2 separate regions of the Homo sapiens genome follow, and region 2 is linked to region 1. Evidence: promoter capture Hi-C in 16 types of primary human blood cells and fetal thymus (Javierre and others, 2016). All regions are on one chromosome and are shown on one strand. The core of a region is centred on a gene start or on the middle of the fragment in contact, and the rest is flanking DNA. Distances in the headings are between cores, read along the strand shown.

Region 1 (7,099 bases), core at 2,196-4,695:
GAAACAGAACTCGCTGCTGAAGCGCCTGCGCAAGGCCAAGAAGGAGGCACCGCCCATGGAGAAGCCGGAAGTGGTGAAGACGCACCTGCGGGACATGATCATCCTGCCCAAGATGGTGGGCAGCATGGTGGGCGTCTACAACGGCAAGACCTTCAACCAGGTGGAGATCAAGCCGGAGATGATCAGTCACTACCTGGGCGAGTTCTCCATCACCTATAAGCTGGTGAAGCACTGCCGGCCCGGCATCGGGGCCACCCACTCCTCCCGCTTCATCCCCCTCAAGTAGTGGCTCAGCTAATAAAGGCACACATATTTCCAAAAAAAAAAAAAAAAAGGAAGTTAAATGGATGGTTTTGCCGGGGACTCACTGCAAACACCTACAACATTCCAAGGAACCAGACCCTTCAGTAGTGCTGGATAGGTGATGGTAATGCCAACCTACACGTGTTGGAGTTTTCAACAATGCTGTGCCATAAGCTCATGAGAAGTTATAGTCTGACAATGATGATAGACTTGAATTCTGGAATCTTGGGCAGTCTGTTCCAGAAATGATACACACTGGTACTTTCATTTCAAAGTATGAAGAAAGATAAACCACATACAGGAACAGCACAAGATTCCTAACAGGTTCTGTTGAACTTAAATTGCTTTAAAGATTTTTTTGCATTATCTGAAGAGGTAAGTCCAATAAAATTATCTAACTCTTCAAAAAGTCATTACATTTAACTATGGTGATAATGAGTCAAATTTAAAAATCACTTCTTTTCCTGAAAGAATCACCAGGTTTTGGTTTTGAGAACTCTGAAGGCAAGAAGCAGGAGGATCCAGACCGGAAAGCATTGAACCAGCCCTCTCACTCCATCTTCCTACACATAAAACAGAACAAAATAAACTATTGTCATAACTCCACACAATTATATTAAGAGACTAAAAAGTAGCCTCAAAAATGGCTGGTGATGTTCAAGTAATCTACAAATACCGGGTTTTAACAAATTAAGTAGGAAACAAAAGACGGTGAGTGGTAAAGTTGCTTTGGTTAAACTCCTACTTCCTCAACTTGCCATGTGACTTTAAGCAAGTTACAAGGCGTCTCTGTCTCAGCTGCCTCATGTGAAAAATGAGGATATCAGTCCTTAACTCACTAAACTGTCAGATTTTAATTACAACAGTGCCTGGCAAATAATCATTTATTAAGACTTATTTTTTAAATGATTCCTATGAGGGCCTCCGGAATCAAACCCTTTTTAAGCAGCAGAAAGGGAATAAAATCCATATTTATATGACTATTGTCTATTAGGAATCTAAATAGGAATCATCTTACTTTTTAGGGGTTGCCTTACCCCAAATATTCTACAACTTCTGAGTTTTCTTTTTTTTCTTTTTGAGACAGGGTCCCACTGTGTCGCTTAGGCTGGGGTGCAGTGGCCCAATCACAGCTCACTACAGCCCTCACTTCCCAGGCTCACATGATCCAAGTGATCTTCCTGCCTCAGCCTCCCTATTAGCTAGGTTCACAGGCATGCACCACCACAGCCAGCTTTTTTTTTTTTTTTTTGTAGAGAGGAGGTTTCACCATGTTGCCCAGGCTGGTCTTGAACTCCTGTGCTCAAGGGATCCACCCACTTCCGCCCCCCAACGTGCTAGGATTACAGGGGTGAACCACCTTGATGGTCTGAGTTTCAATTATAAATATGACACTGGGCTGGCTGGGTCAGGCGTCTAGAAAGTGCACTAACATTGGAAGAAAGGGTGATCAGGCCTCTAGTTCCTGTTCTGCTACCGATTAGCTGTGTGACCTTTAGTAAGTTAAGAATTCTCCCAAGGCATTCTATACAACCGAGAGGGGTGGGAGAAGAGATAGTGAGGAACTAGATTTCTAAGGTAGCCATTAAAATCCTGCTAATCCTAAACAGACAATTTTAGAGGATTCTTAAGATTATCTTTCTTATAAAGGAAGGACAGGCCAGAAAAGATAGCTGTTAAAGTCAATTGACAAAGTTAAATCATATTAATGTCCTTTGTGAGCTCCATGAATGCAGAAATGGTATGTTATTTATCTGTATGATCCAGTCTACTGGCACACATTACCTACTCAAAATGCTGGTGTGCTGAACTATACGTTCGTATTTGGGAATCAACTGCACTTTTATTGGAGCTTTCTTTATAGAAGTTATTTCTCAGATATATTTCTTTCCCTGTTGCATCATACACTTTACCTGTCCCCCATTTAATTCTCGCATTAAAGTAGTGAGATACGCACTATCATTTGCATATCAGGAAACTTAAGTCCAGGCTACCTGGCTCTTAGCTGGAGAACAGACTCCAACCGAGGTCTACCTTGCCTGAAAAATCTGTGCTCTTAGCAGGGCGCGGTGGCTCATGCCTGTAATCCCAACACTTTGCGAGGCCGAGGTAGTCGGATCACTTAAGGTCAGGAGTTCCAGACCTGCCTGACCAACATGGCGAAACCCTGTCTCTACTAAAAATACAAAAATTAGCCGGGCGTGGTGGCGCATGCCTGTAATCCCAGCTACTCGGGAGGCTGAAGCAGGAGAATCGCTTGAACCCCGGAGGCGGGAGGTTGCAGTGAGCAGAGATAGCGCCACTGCACTCCAGCCTGGGTGACAGAGCGAGGCTCCATCTCACAAAAAAAAAAAAATAAAAATAAAAATCTGTGCTCTTAACTACCCTGATTTTCACCTCCCGTTAACACTTGGCAAATACATAAAGACCTATCAGCATGCAGCTCCGTGTAACGTTATGATAATAAAAACATTTATTTGGGATGATACGGTCTGCTGAGATCAGAGCTGTGATCCTCTTTTCTCTCCCAGAACTGTAACCTCTGGGGAAAAGAAAGAAGTCTCATATATGTGCCTGGGGGGCTGACTGCCTGGGGAAACGAGGGGGAACCTCAGAAACTGAGAGGATAGCGGAAGGCAGCCGGCATCAAAAACATCAGCCATGGACGAGCAATTCTGCAAACTCTTTGCAATCTGCTGGGGAGCAAAATCGGTACCCAGACAAGTCTGTGGACATGTCTGGCACCGTTTTTGGTGCAGCCACCAAGTGCCTACGAACCCCGATCCCTTGCTCCTCCGGGCCTCACTTTATCTGAAACACGGAACGAAGCTATCTAAGACCTGCCGTCGTCCCTCGGGGCTGCTGGGGTGAGAGGAGGGGCGACACGGGACGGCCCCAGGGCAAGCGCCCCGGAAAAAGCGCTTCCAAGCCAGCCCTCCCGGGCTGGAGCGAGCAGGGAGGGGAGAGGGTGGTGGACCCGTTTTCCCTTCACCCGCTCCAACACACTCAAGGAAGAGAGAGAGAAAGACATCCTGCCACAGCCATACTCACTGCCGGACAACAGTCAGAGCGAAGCGAGCCATGTTCCCGGAGCCGCGTCCCGTCGGTGGCCCCGCGCCGCGCTGCCCCTGCACTGCGGGCTACCTCCCCCACACCACTTCCGCCAAGCAGCCGGCCGGCTCCGCCGCCATAGGCCGAGGCGGCCTCGCACGTCATCCCCGAAGGCCACTCAGGGCCGGGCGAGGCCGACGGGGCGGGGGAGACGAGGGAGCCACGGGGGCCCCGCCCAGGGCTGCGGCGCTTGCGCCCCTGCGCGCCGGCCTGTGATTGGCGCGCGGCAGGTGCGGGAGGCCCCGCCCGCGGAGTCCGCGGTAGGATTCCTTCCCTCGATAGCCGGCAGCCTGCGTTCGGGGCAGATAAGGAAGCCGGCGCACTGATTTGTGGTTGTTGCGATTGAGGCTGGAATGCAACCGTTCGTCTTATAGCTGGCCACTGTGATGAACCCCTCACGGGTGTACAGCGACCAACAGACTGTGTTCTATGAGGTCTGTTAGTCCCTAACCTTAGGGACGTAGCGTCGGCCAGGTCTGTAGACTTAGACCCACCCACCCCAACTCCGCCGGGACAGACGCCCTCCGTGACCAAACTTTAGTCGGGCTCCTTTGAGGCCTTTTCTATACTAGACGGCATCCTCGGCCTGCTGAGCCTGGTTTTACCAAAGAATCCTGCTAAGCCTGTTTATCAAGAGAGACCTCACTGTTGATGCTCTCTTCTAAGGCCCTTGATATCTAGTAAAGTTCCTCCTCCCCCTCCCCCAGATAGCTTACCACGTTCTGGTAATTTCCCATCTTCTCTTTCATCCCTTCCATCCCGCCCCCTGGCTATAAATCTCCACTGGTCCCGGTTGTATTCTAGAGTCGAATTCAGTCTCTCTCACCTATTGCAGTAGTCTTGAGTAAAGTCTTGCCGTTTTTAACAAGCCTCAGATGAATAATTTCTCTTTAATAGCCTTCAGAACGTTGAGGGAGTTGCTTCATGTTAGATATGAGTTCTAAATTTCTTTTCAAAGAATCAATATGTCAGTATGTTCAATTCTTTGCTTTTTACTTTTAAACTTAACTTCCTCCTAAAGCAACCTTCTCTTTTTTATTTATTTATTTATTTTTTTGAGATGGAGTCTGGCTCTGTCACCCAGGCTGGAGTGCAGTGGTGTGATCTCGGCTCACTGCAAGCTCCGCCTCCCGGGTTCACGCCATTCTGGCTCAGCCTCCCGAGTAGCTGGGACTACAGGCGCCTGCCACCACGCCCGGCTAATTTTTTGTATTTTTAGTAGAGACAGGGTTTCACCGTGTTAGCCAGGATGGTCTCGATCTCCTGACCTCGTGATCCGCCCGCCTCGACCTCCCAAAGTGGTGGGATTACAGGCGTGAGCCACCGCGCCCGGCCACAACCTTTTTCGATTACCTGCTGCACTCTGACTCCTTCCCATTACCTACTCCACCCTGACTCCTTCCCATTACCTACTCCACCCTGACTCCTTCCCATTACCTACGCCACCCTGACTCAGATTACCTGCTCTGTCATAACTGTTTTTCCCGCCAAACCACTCACCCCCATCACTCTCTTTAGATTAGCCAATCGGAATTAGTTTAGCCTGTGCGGTGGGGCACTACACAGCAGCAGGGGCCACGTGCGTCAGGGATAAGAACCCCTTCCCCTCCCTTGTCCAAGTGTGCGCTCACCATTGCTCCATCTGTAAGGACGCACCCTTCTATAGAAGTACCTTGCCTTGCTGAGAATTAAAAAGAAAATTTTATATTCGAGTGCTATTTCTTTTGTGGCACTGAAAGTTTATTTATAACATGAGCTTCTCTAACCCTGGGTTTTGTGACAGGTAAACTGGGATAGCAGTACCTAGCAATGTGACACAAGTAACAATAATGTTAGCTAGGTGACATTGTCTTCCATGCACTGTTACCTAAATTCTTGTATTTCATAATGCATTTATTTCCTTGAATCCCCACTTATATATGAAAAGATGTGTTTAGAGAAGAGATGAATGAGATACTTAGATTCATAGGCACACATTTCAAAACAGTCTTACATGTAATATCACATTTGGCCTTCTGAACAATTCTAAGGTAGACAGGATAGGCTACATTATCTTCACTTTAGAGATGAGAAATATGGCCGGGCATGGTGGCTCACGCCTGTAATCCCAGCACTTTGGGAGGCCAAGGCAGGTCAGGAGAATCTGCAGGTCAGGAGATAGAGACCATTTTGGCTAACACGGTGAAACCCCATCTCTACTAAAAATACAAAAAATTAGCCGGGCATGGTGGCACGTGCCTGTAGTCGCAGCTACTAGGGAGGCTGAGGCAGGAGAATCGTTTGAACCCGGGAGGCAGAGGTTGCAGTGAGCCGAGATTCCAACACTGCACTCCAGCCTGGGTGACAGAGCAAGACCCCATCTCAAAAAAAAAAAAAAAGAAATATGGCCGAGAGAGAGACAGCGATTTGTCTAGGCTCACACAACTGGTCAGCGGTGACACAGAACTAGTTTAGAGGTCCTCAAACCTATCTTTACATTAGAATCGTCTGGAGACCTTTGCCAGGCTACACCCCAGAAAAATCAAATCTGAACTTCTGGGGGAAAGACTCAGGCAGCAGTATCTGTATGCTTTTAATCCCCAGCTGTTTCCAACATACAAGTGGCTGTTCTGAGAGCTAGCAGTTTAAAGCAATGCTTCACAAACTCGAACGTGCACACAAAGCAGTTGGGCATAGTGTTAAAATGTAGATTCTGGAGTTAGTAGATTGGAGTGGGGACCAAATTCAGCATCTCTAACAGCTTGCAGGTCAACAGGAGGCATTTTCAGGATGAGAGTGGAGGGATAATTCAGAGGGCCCTAACAGTGGGGCCCAGATATCGTGTGTGTGTGTGTGTGTGTGTGTGTGTGTGTGTGTGTGTGTGTGTGTGTGTGTCCGTGTCCGTGTTCTGAATGCCCAAATGAATGAATCATCCCAGCAGATTCTCCTGGAAGTTTGAGCTGAAAAAATGAAATTAAGTAGTTATCTGTGAGGGGTGAAGCAGAAAGAAAGCACAGAAAGAAATCATAGGATAGAGTTAGGGCTATGAAGGGGCATGGTGATTGAAGCTGTGAAGAAACAGAAGCCATAAATAATACAAGTGAGAGAACAGAGGAGAGGGTACGAAGAAGCAAAGTCAATGGAAGAAGCAAAGAGACACACAGAGAGACACAGACACAAGTGAGTAATGCAAGGAGTACCCAGTCACTGGTCGCTCAAACTGCCATAGTCCCAGATACCTTGAAAGTTCCGGTTTGTATAGTAAAACCTCTTTCACTTTAAGGTGGTCCAAGTGCATTTCTAACGCCTAAATAAAAACAGCTTCCCATTTTGTCTTATTTAATACACACAGTAACTCTGCAAGGTAGGAGTTATTTCCATTTCACAGATGAAGAATTAAGGCACATACAGGTTAACTAATTTCCCATTTCTTGGGCCAGGCACAGTGGCTCACGCCTGTAATCCCAGCACTTTGGGAGGCCGAGGCGGGCGGATCACTTGAGCTCAGGAGTTGGAGACCAGCCTGGCCAACATGGTGAAACCCCTCCTCCACTAAAACACAAAAAGTAGCCGGGCGTGGTGGTAGGTGCCTGTAATCCCAGCTATTCGGGAGGCTGAGGCAGGGGAATTGCTTGAACCCGGGAGGCAGAGGTTGCAGAGCCAAGATCATGCCACTGCACTCCAGCCTGGGCGACAGAGTGAGACT
Region 2 (7,099 bases), core at 3,188-5,687, 560 kb after region 1:
TTTTTTTTTCCTGAGTCTCTGGGCTATAACCTTCAGATGTTTTTTGTTTCGTTTTGTTTTTCCCTTCCTTCAAGTGAGACAGGAAAGCTAGAAGGAGCTGAAGTTGGCTAATCGTCCTTCTCTCAGGTAGATAAGGCTCTGGTAAAGTTGGTTCCCTCGGAGAGTAGGCCCTTGAAATGGAGAATGCTTTGGCATTTTAAATGGTTACTTTTCCCCTCACCCCTGCCTGAAACATAAGGGATTTTTTTGTTGGATATTCACTGTGAGAATCTGGTGAGGCTCCTGAAGGTAAAATCCATCAAAGTGTAGTGGGGGAAGCACACTAACACTGCATCTCCAGGAATTACTCTCTCAAGCAAATCCATACTCGACCCCCAGCAATCCATCAGAATTACTGTAAGTGTTTCTGTCCATTTACGGCTGTCGTGGCTTCTGCTTTACAAGAGCTGACCTAGGCTGTGGTTCTCTGTATTCACTTGTCTCTCTAGATTTCAGGGTGCTTCTTTGCCCTGCGATCTCAATTTTCTGATGGCTCTAAGAAAAGTTTGTTTTCCATTTGTGCAGCTTTTATCTTGTAAGAATGGAAGTGATAACTTCTAAGCTCTTCACATGTCATAGCTGAAACTGGAAGTCCTCCATCCTTTTACATTTAATTTTCTTTGTTTCTTTGAAGCTAAGCTGTGTTTCTTGTTTCTTTGAAGCTAAGCTATGTTTCTCGTAGACAGCATATACAAACATACAAAAATTTGGTCTTGTTCTTTTTTATCCAGTCTGAAAACCTGTTCCTTTTGAGTAGGGCATTTAGTCCATTTATATTTTGTGTAATTGTTGGTATGGATTGATATTTGTTATTTTTCTGTGTGTTTTCTATTTTTCTCATTTTTTTGTTATTATTCCTTTGCTCCTCTTTTATCTCCGTCTTTCATGTTAAATGAATATTTTTAGTGTAGCATTTTAATTCCTCTGTTGATTTTTCTGCTGTATTTTTGAGTTATATTCTTAGGTGTTTTAGGAATTACAATGTGCATCTCAACTTCTTGCAATCTAATTCAGAATAATACTACATTAATTCTAAAAATATTGCTGCAATATTTATTTCTTTTCCCTACCCTCCTTTGTTCCATCATTATCGTATCAATTTCTATGTGTGTTATATACCCAACAATACAGTGTTATAAGTTTTGCTTTATACAATTTTATGTCTTTTAAAGAAGAGAAAAAAATTGGAAAAACTATATTTATGGAGTCTTTTATATTTACCCACATATTTATAATTTCTGAACTGCTTCCTTTCTTTCTGTGGATTTGAGTATCTTATGGTGTTACTTTCTTTAAGCCTAAAGGACTTCCATTAGTATTTATCGTGAGGTACATTTGCTAGCAAAACATTGTCTCACTCTTTGGTTACCTGGGAATGTCTTTACTTTGCCTTCATTTGTGAAGGATAGTTTTGATGGATGTAAGTAATTTGTTGACAGATATTTTTCACCATTTCGAATATGTCATTTCACTGCCTTGTGACATCCATTGTTTTAGAATTGATTCATTCGTGTAATTTCTTTTGTTGATATTGTTTATTTATTGTTGTCATACTTTCCTTAAAATTTTAAACATGGTTTCCTGTAGTTCCTTGAACATATTTCTAATAACTGCTTTAAAAACTGTCTGCTAGACCCAACATCCAGGGACATTCAGAGACAATTTCAACTGACTCCTTTTTTTTTTTCCTGAATATGGTCATACCTTTGTGTTGCTTTGCCTGCCTTATCATTTTTTTGTTGAAAACTGGATATTTTACATAGTATATTGTAGCAACTTTGGATTTTAATTTTAATTTGAGTGTTGCTATTGTTATTGTTTTGTATGTTTATTTAATAACTTGTCTGGAAGAAATCTGTGAAGCTTGCCTCTGCAGCGTACATCTATGACTGTCTCTGCTACTGTTTTTCTTGTTTCTTATTCTTTTTTGTTTGTTTGTTTTTGAGACAGAGTCTTGCTCTGTTGTCCAGGCTGGAGTGCAGTGGTGTGATCTCGGCTCACTGCAACCTCTGCCTCCTGGGTTCAAATGATTCTCTTGCCTCAGCCTCCTGAGTAGCTGGGACTATAAGAGCATGCCATCACACCCCGCTAATTTTTTTTTTGGTATTTTTAGTAGAGACAGGGTTTCACTGTGTAAGCCAGGATGGTCTCAATCTCCTGACCTCATGATCCACCCGCCTCGGCCTCCCAAAATGCTGGGATTACAGGCGTGAGCCACCACTCCTGGCCTTGTTTCTTTTTTTTTTTTTTTGAGACCGAGTCTCACTTTATCGCCCAGGCTGGAGTGCTGTGGCATAATTTTGGTTCACTGCAACCTTCACCTCCTGGGTTCAAGCAGTTCTCCTGCCTCAACCTCCTGAGTAACTGGGATTACAAGTGCGCGCCACCACGCCTGGTTAATTTTTGTATTTTTAGTAGAGACGGGGTTTCACCATGTTGGTCAGGCTGGTCTCGAACTCCTGACCTCGTGATCCGCTCACCTCGGCCTCCCAAAGTGCTGGGATTACAGGCATGAGCCACCGTGCCCGGCCAGCTGGCCTTGTTTCTTATTCTTAAGCCTGGCTTCCTAGAGTTGCCCATGTGTCTGCCTAGATTAGCGTTCAGCCAAAGATTGGTCAGAGGTTATGCTCAAATATCTCGAGCCAGTGAGATTTCTACTTTCTGCTGGCAGATTTGTGAGTCAGCTGGAGAGTGCATCAAAATTTCAGGCATTTTCCCCCCAAGTCTGCCGAGGCTTCTCTTTTCCCCTGAGCCCTTGCATCTCCACTGTACATGGGGAAGACTCCACTGGCCAGGAATGTGTGGGTGGCTTAGGATGTTCCCGTTTCTGCAGCATATGCATACGACCTCTGTTTAACTCATAATATGGGGAGAGTTTACTAATCCCCTCATATCTGCTTCACCTCCTGGAACTCCCTGTTAAGTACCCAGCTAGTCACTAGCCCATTGCTTGCTCTGCAGTTTCAGGCCAGAAGAGCTTCTGGTCCTTTCTGATTACTTGCCTCTGAGATCATCGCTTAAATAATACTGCTTCAAGTCAAGGGAACCCCCTCTGGCAGTGACAAAAAAATGCTAGTTTGTAAGATCTGGCTTGCCCTCATTGAACTATCAAACAACAGCACTCTGGTGGCGGGGCAGGGGTGCAGGACTCATACAAATCACCACAGATTCACGCTGATGTTGCTGTAAGTTTAGTAGTTTTCACGAATATAAGCACTTCTCAGTTTGTTGCACGCCTCCAGTCATTTTTGGGAAATGAAATGGTTGTTTTTGACAGTTTTGAGTGGGGACTATAGTTGCTTTTTGAGGAAATAGATTATCGACCTCTTCACACTCTTATGCCAGAAGTTCTTCTCTGGACATCAGGTTTTTATGGTGTCTCTCCCCAGCTGGGAGAGGGGATGTGCAGGAGGGGAGGAGGTCTGGGCTGGAAGCTTTCCAATCTGGACTCAGCTGCAGCCAGTGGGCTCTTACCCTTTGCAGATCTCAGTTCCCTTAGCTGAAAATCAATGGGCGTTGGACAGGGTGACTTGCTGCATTTCCTTCCATCCTGAAAATATTCAGTTTCTAATGGAATTCAGAATTCAGCCAATGTCTTTACATAGGAGATCTAAAAAATTAATTGATCTCACCCTTTCCATGATCTTTGGTGTCATTGTTACATAAAATTGTGCCTCCAAGGAGGTCATATATGTATTTCATCTAAGAAGAGGCAATGGTGCTTTTGACTTCAGTAGAGAGAGGAGGATATTTTTTCCCTCCTTCCTTCCTTCTTCCTTCTCTTCTTGCTTGCTTCTTTTCTTTTCTTTTCCCTCCCCTCCCCTCCCCCTCCCTCCCTCCCTCCTTTCTATCTCTCTCTCTCTCTTTCTTTCTTTCTTTCTCTCTCTCTCTTTTTCTTTTCTTTCTTTCTTTTCAGAGACAGGGTCTTGCTCTGTTGCCTAGGTTGGAGTGCAGTGGCGTTATCATAGCTCACTACAGGTGTGTGCCACTGTATTAGTCCATTCTCACATGGTTATAAAGAACTACCTGAGACTGGGTAATTTATAAAGAAAAGAGATTTAGTTGGCTCATGGTTCCAGGAAGCATGTCTGGGGAGACCTCAGGAAATTTACAATCATGGCAGAAGGTGAAGGTGGAACAGGCACATCCTACATGGCTGGAGCTTGAGGAAGAGAGCAAAAAGGGAAGTGCTATACACGTTTCATTAGTCCCTTTTCATGCTGCTGATAAGACATACCCGAGACTGGGGAAAGAAAGAGGTTTAATTGGACTTACAGTTCCACATGGCTAGGGAGGCCTCAGAATCATGGTGGGGGGGGAAAGGCACTTCTTACATAGTGTGGCAGGAGAGAATGAGAGAGAAGCAAAAGCAGAAACTCCTGATAAACCCATCAGATCTTGTGAGACTTACTATCATGATAATAGCACAAGAAACACTGGCCCCCATGATTCAACTACCTCCCCCTGGGTCCCTCCCATAACACGTGGGAATTCTGGGAGATACAGTTCAAGTTGAGATTTGAGTGGGCACACAGCCAAACCATATCAACTTTTAAACAACCAGATCTTGTGAGAACTCACTCACTATCATGAGAATAGCAAGGGGGAAAATCCTTCCCCATGATCCAGTCACCTCCCACCAGGCTCCTCCTCCAACATTAGGGATTACAATTCGACATGAGATTTGGGTGGGGACACAAATCCAAACCATATCAGCCACCATGCCTGGCTAATTTTTTTTTAATTTATAATTTTTTGTAGAGATGGGGTGTCACTGTGTTGCCTAGGCTGGTGTCATTCTCTTTGCTTTGCTTTTCCCTCTTCCTCTCCTTCCTCCCTCCCTCCCTCCCTTCCTTTTTCCTTTCCTGACACTGTAAGCCTTGACTATGTACCAGGCACTGTACTAGTTGCTTTTTATGTGAATTATTTCATTTACGTCTCACAACAACCTCATCAGGTAGATCCTGTCCCTAACTACATTTTACAGATTAGGAAGCCGAAGAACAGATAAACTTCCTGACATGTTCAAAGCTGAGTAGTTATTTAGTCTCAACCTCTCAATCCCCTTCTACTCTGCAACACCAACTCTACACATAAATTAGACTTTTGGCATCATTGGTCATGTTTTTAAGAGAAGTGGTCCGGAATTGAGAGGTGGGGAGGCTCCTCTGGTTGAGAAACACCAGAGGTGTCTTTCTGCAGTAGGCAGCATGAAAGCTGGATCTGGCTTTAGACTTTAAACAGAGATGCATGGAGGGCCCTGCAGGCAGGGAAAGCAAAGCTGGTATGACACCATTGCTAGAAAGCAAATGCTGGGCTCTTTACAGCCTATTTGTGGGTGAATAGTGAGACATAAGCTTAGAAGGTGATATAGTTTGGCTGTGTCCCCACTCAAATCTCCTCTTGAATTGTAGCTCCCACAATTCCCATTTGTCATGGGAGGGACCTGGTGGGAGGTAATTGAATCATAGGGGTGGGTCTTTCCTGTGCTGTTCTTGTGATAGTGAATAAGTCTCACGAGATTTGATGGTTTGATAAAGGGGAGTTTCCCTGCCCAAGCTCTCTCTTGTCTGCCACCATATAAGACGTGCCTTTTGCCCTCCACCATGATTGTGAGGCCTCCCCAGCCACATGGAACTGTGAGTCCACTAAACCTCTTTTCGTTTATAAATTACCCAGTCTCAGGTAAGTCTTGATCAGCAGCATGAGAAGAGACTAATACAGAAGGGTTGTTTTATCAAAACAAAGCATCTCTCTAAAAATGGTGATGTTCCCTGACCAAATTTTGATGGTGGAGGAATTAGATTATTGGGAAGCACTCTGTAATGAAATGGCCAGGCACTTTTCTTTGTTTTCGCTGGCTTGTAGGAGCTGGTTGGCTCCACCAAACACTAGGCCTAGAACATTCTTGGGCTGACAGAACCCCCTCCTTCACCTTACTACATTTGTTATTTCCTTATTTATTATATTCACGGTCAAGATACTGTGGTTGGGTCTTGTGTGTATGCATGTGCACTCATGGGAAAGCAGAATTATGAGGGAAAAATATCTATACTTTCTAAGCAATTTATAACTGTAAAATAGTAGATACGAAACATTAATTTCATCATTCCCAGATGATTAGATAAATGATAATTCATTGTTAGGTCTTTAATTTATTTTTAGCTGAAGTAACCATGTGGCTTCTTTAGTGGATACCCTTGAACGTATGGTGGCTTTGATTTCTCTATTCCACAAAGAGGGGATTCAGAAATTCGTGACAGCAAAAACAATATCCCACATAAGGTGGCATCAGGTACTCTGTCTCTCAGAGGCCACTTGTGGGGCAGGGGGATGGAGTGAAATCCTCCATTCAGGGCCTGGAGTGGTCACCCACAAGCTTGTGGCTTACAGGTCAAGTCACCCTGAGCCATAGTTACCTCGTCAGTAATACATGGGATTGGCTCTATGACTTCCAGCTCTCTCAGGTCTGTACCTCTGCAGCTCCATCTGAATGACGAAGTCTATTGTTGGCTGCTGGATGGAGAGTAGAAAGTCACTGCTCATGTCTTACTTGTCCTGTTTTGGAAGGACTCCAGATTTGTAAATCCCTTAAAGGAAGTACATGATTTTCAGAAATATCTTCAGGGAGGCCCTGCATTCTAGCCTAATTTTTCAATTGCAGCTATAAGCATGTAGCCTGAATTGGCTCCTGCAATCTCATAGATGTCTCCTTCCCAAACATGCTCACAGAGGCAAAGGTTAGAAGATATGGATCCAGGGTGATTTCCCTCTGGTGTTTGCTGGCTCTGTAGAGCTGGCCAGCCCTCTGCTCTGGGCCGCTGTTTGATTTGGCCTTTGCTGGCGAAGCTCTGGGAGGTGGGGCAGATGCTGCCCTTCTGTATGCAGCCTGAGAAAGTCAACATTGAAAAATCTGTTTGGTTTTTGGCCTCCACCTGTTGGAAACTCTGTAATTGTTGCCATTCACAATAAGGAAGAAGGAACAATAGAGGGATTCCTGTATTAGAACAGTGAATGTTTTCATTGTTCCTCTAAGGGGACCAATAATAGGAACTGGGCT

What was found. Contacts are between HindIII fragments. The CHiCAGO score rates a contact against its expected background, and 5 or more counts as called.
Region 2: a fragment that was not itself captured here is called in contact with the fragment with the promoter of TIGAR in region 1 in 1 of 17 cell types (naive B cells); the score reaches 5.3 in naive B cells.

The regions. Positions count from the first base shown.
Region 1 is chr12:4,317,559-4,324,657 of GRCh38, reverse strand. It overlaps TIGAR (TP53 induced glycolysis regulatory phosphatase), which reads right to left and starts at 3,445. Exons shown (of 6, transcript NM_020375.3): 1 at 3,355-3,445. The coding sequence starts at 3,386. It also overlaps the pseudogene RPS15P7. RefSeq lists a silencer at 3,355-3,734 and an enhancer at 3,200-3,853. The HindIII fragment of the contact is 10,388 bases long and covers 1-7,099 here.
Region 2 is chr12:3,757,226-3,764,324 of GRCh38, reverse strand. LOC107984495 (a long non-coding RNA gene) reads right to left here. Exons shown (of 2, transcript XR_001748964.2): 2 at 6,160-6,629. Among named protein-coding and RNA genes, the nearest start is that of CRACR2A, 7.7 kb to the right of the region's middle. The HindIII fragment of the contact is 1,923 bases long and covers 3,476-5,398 here.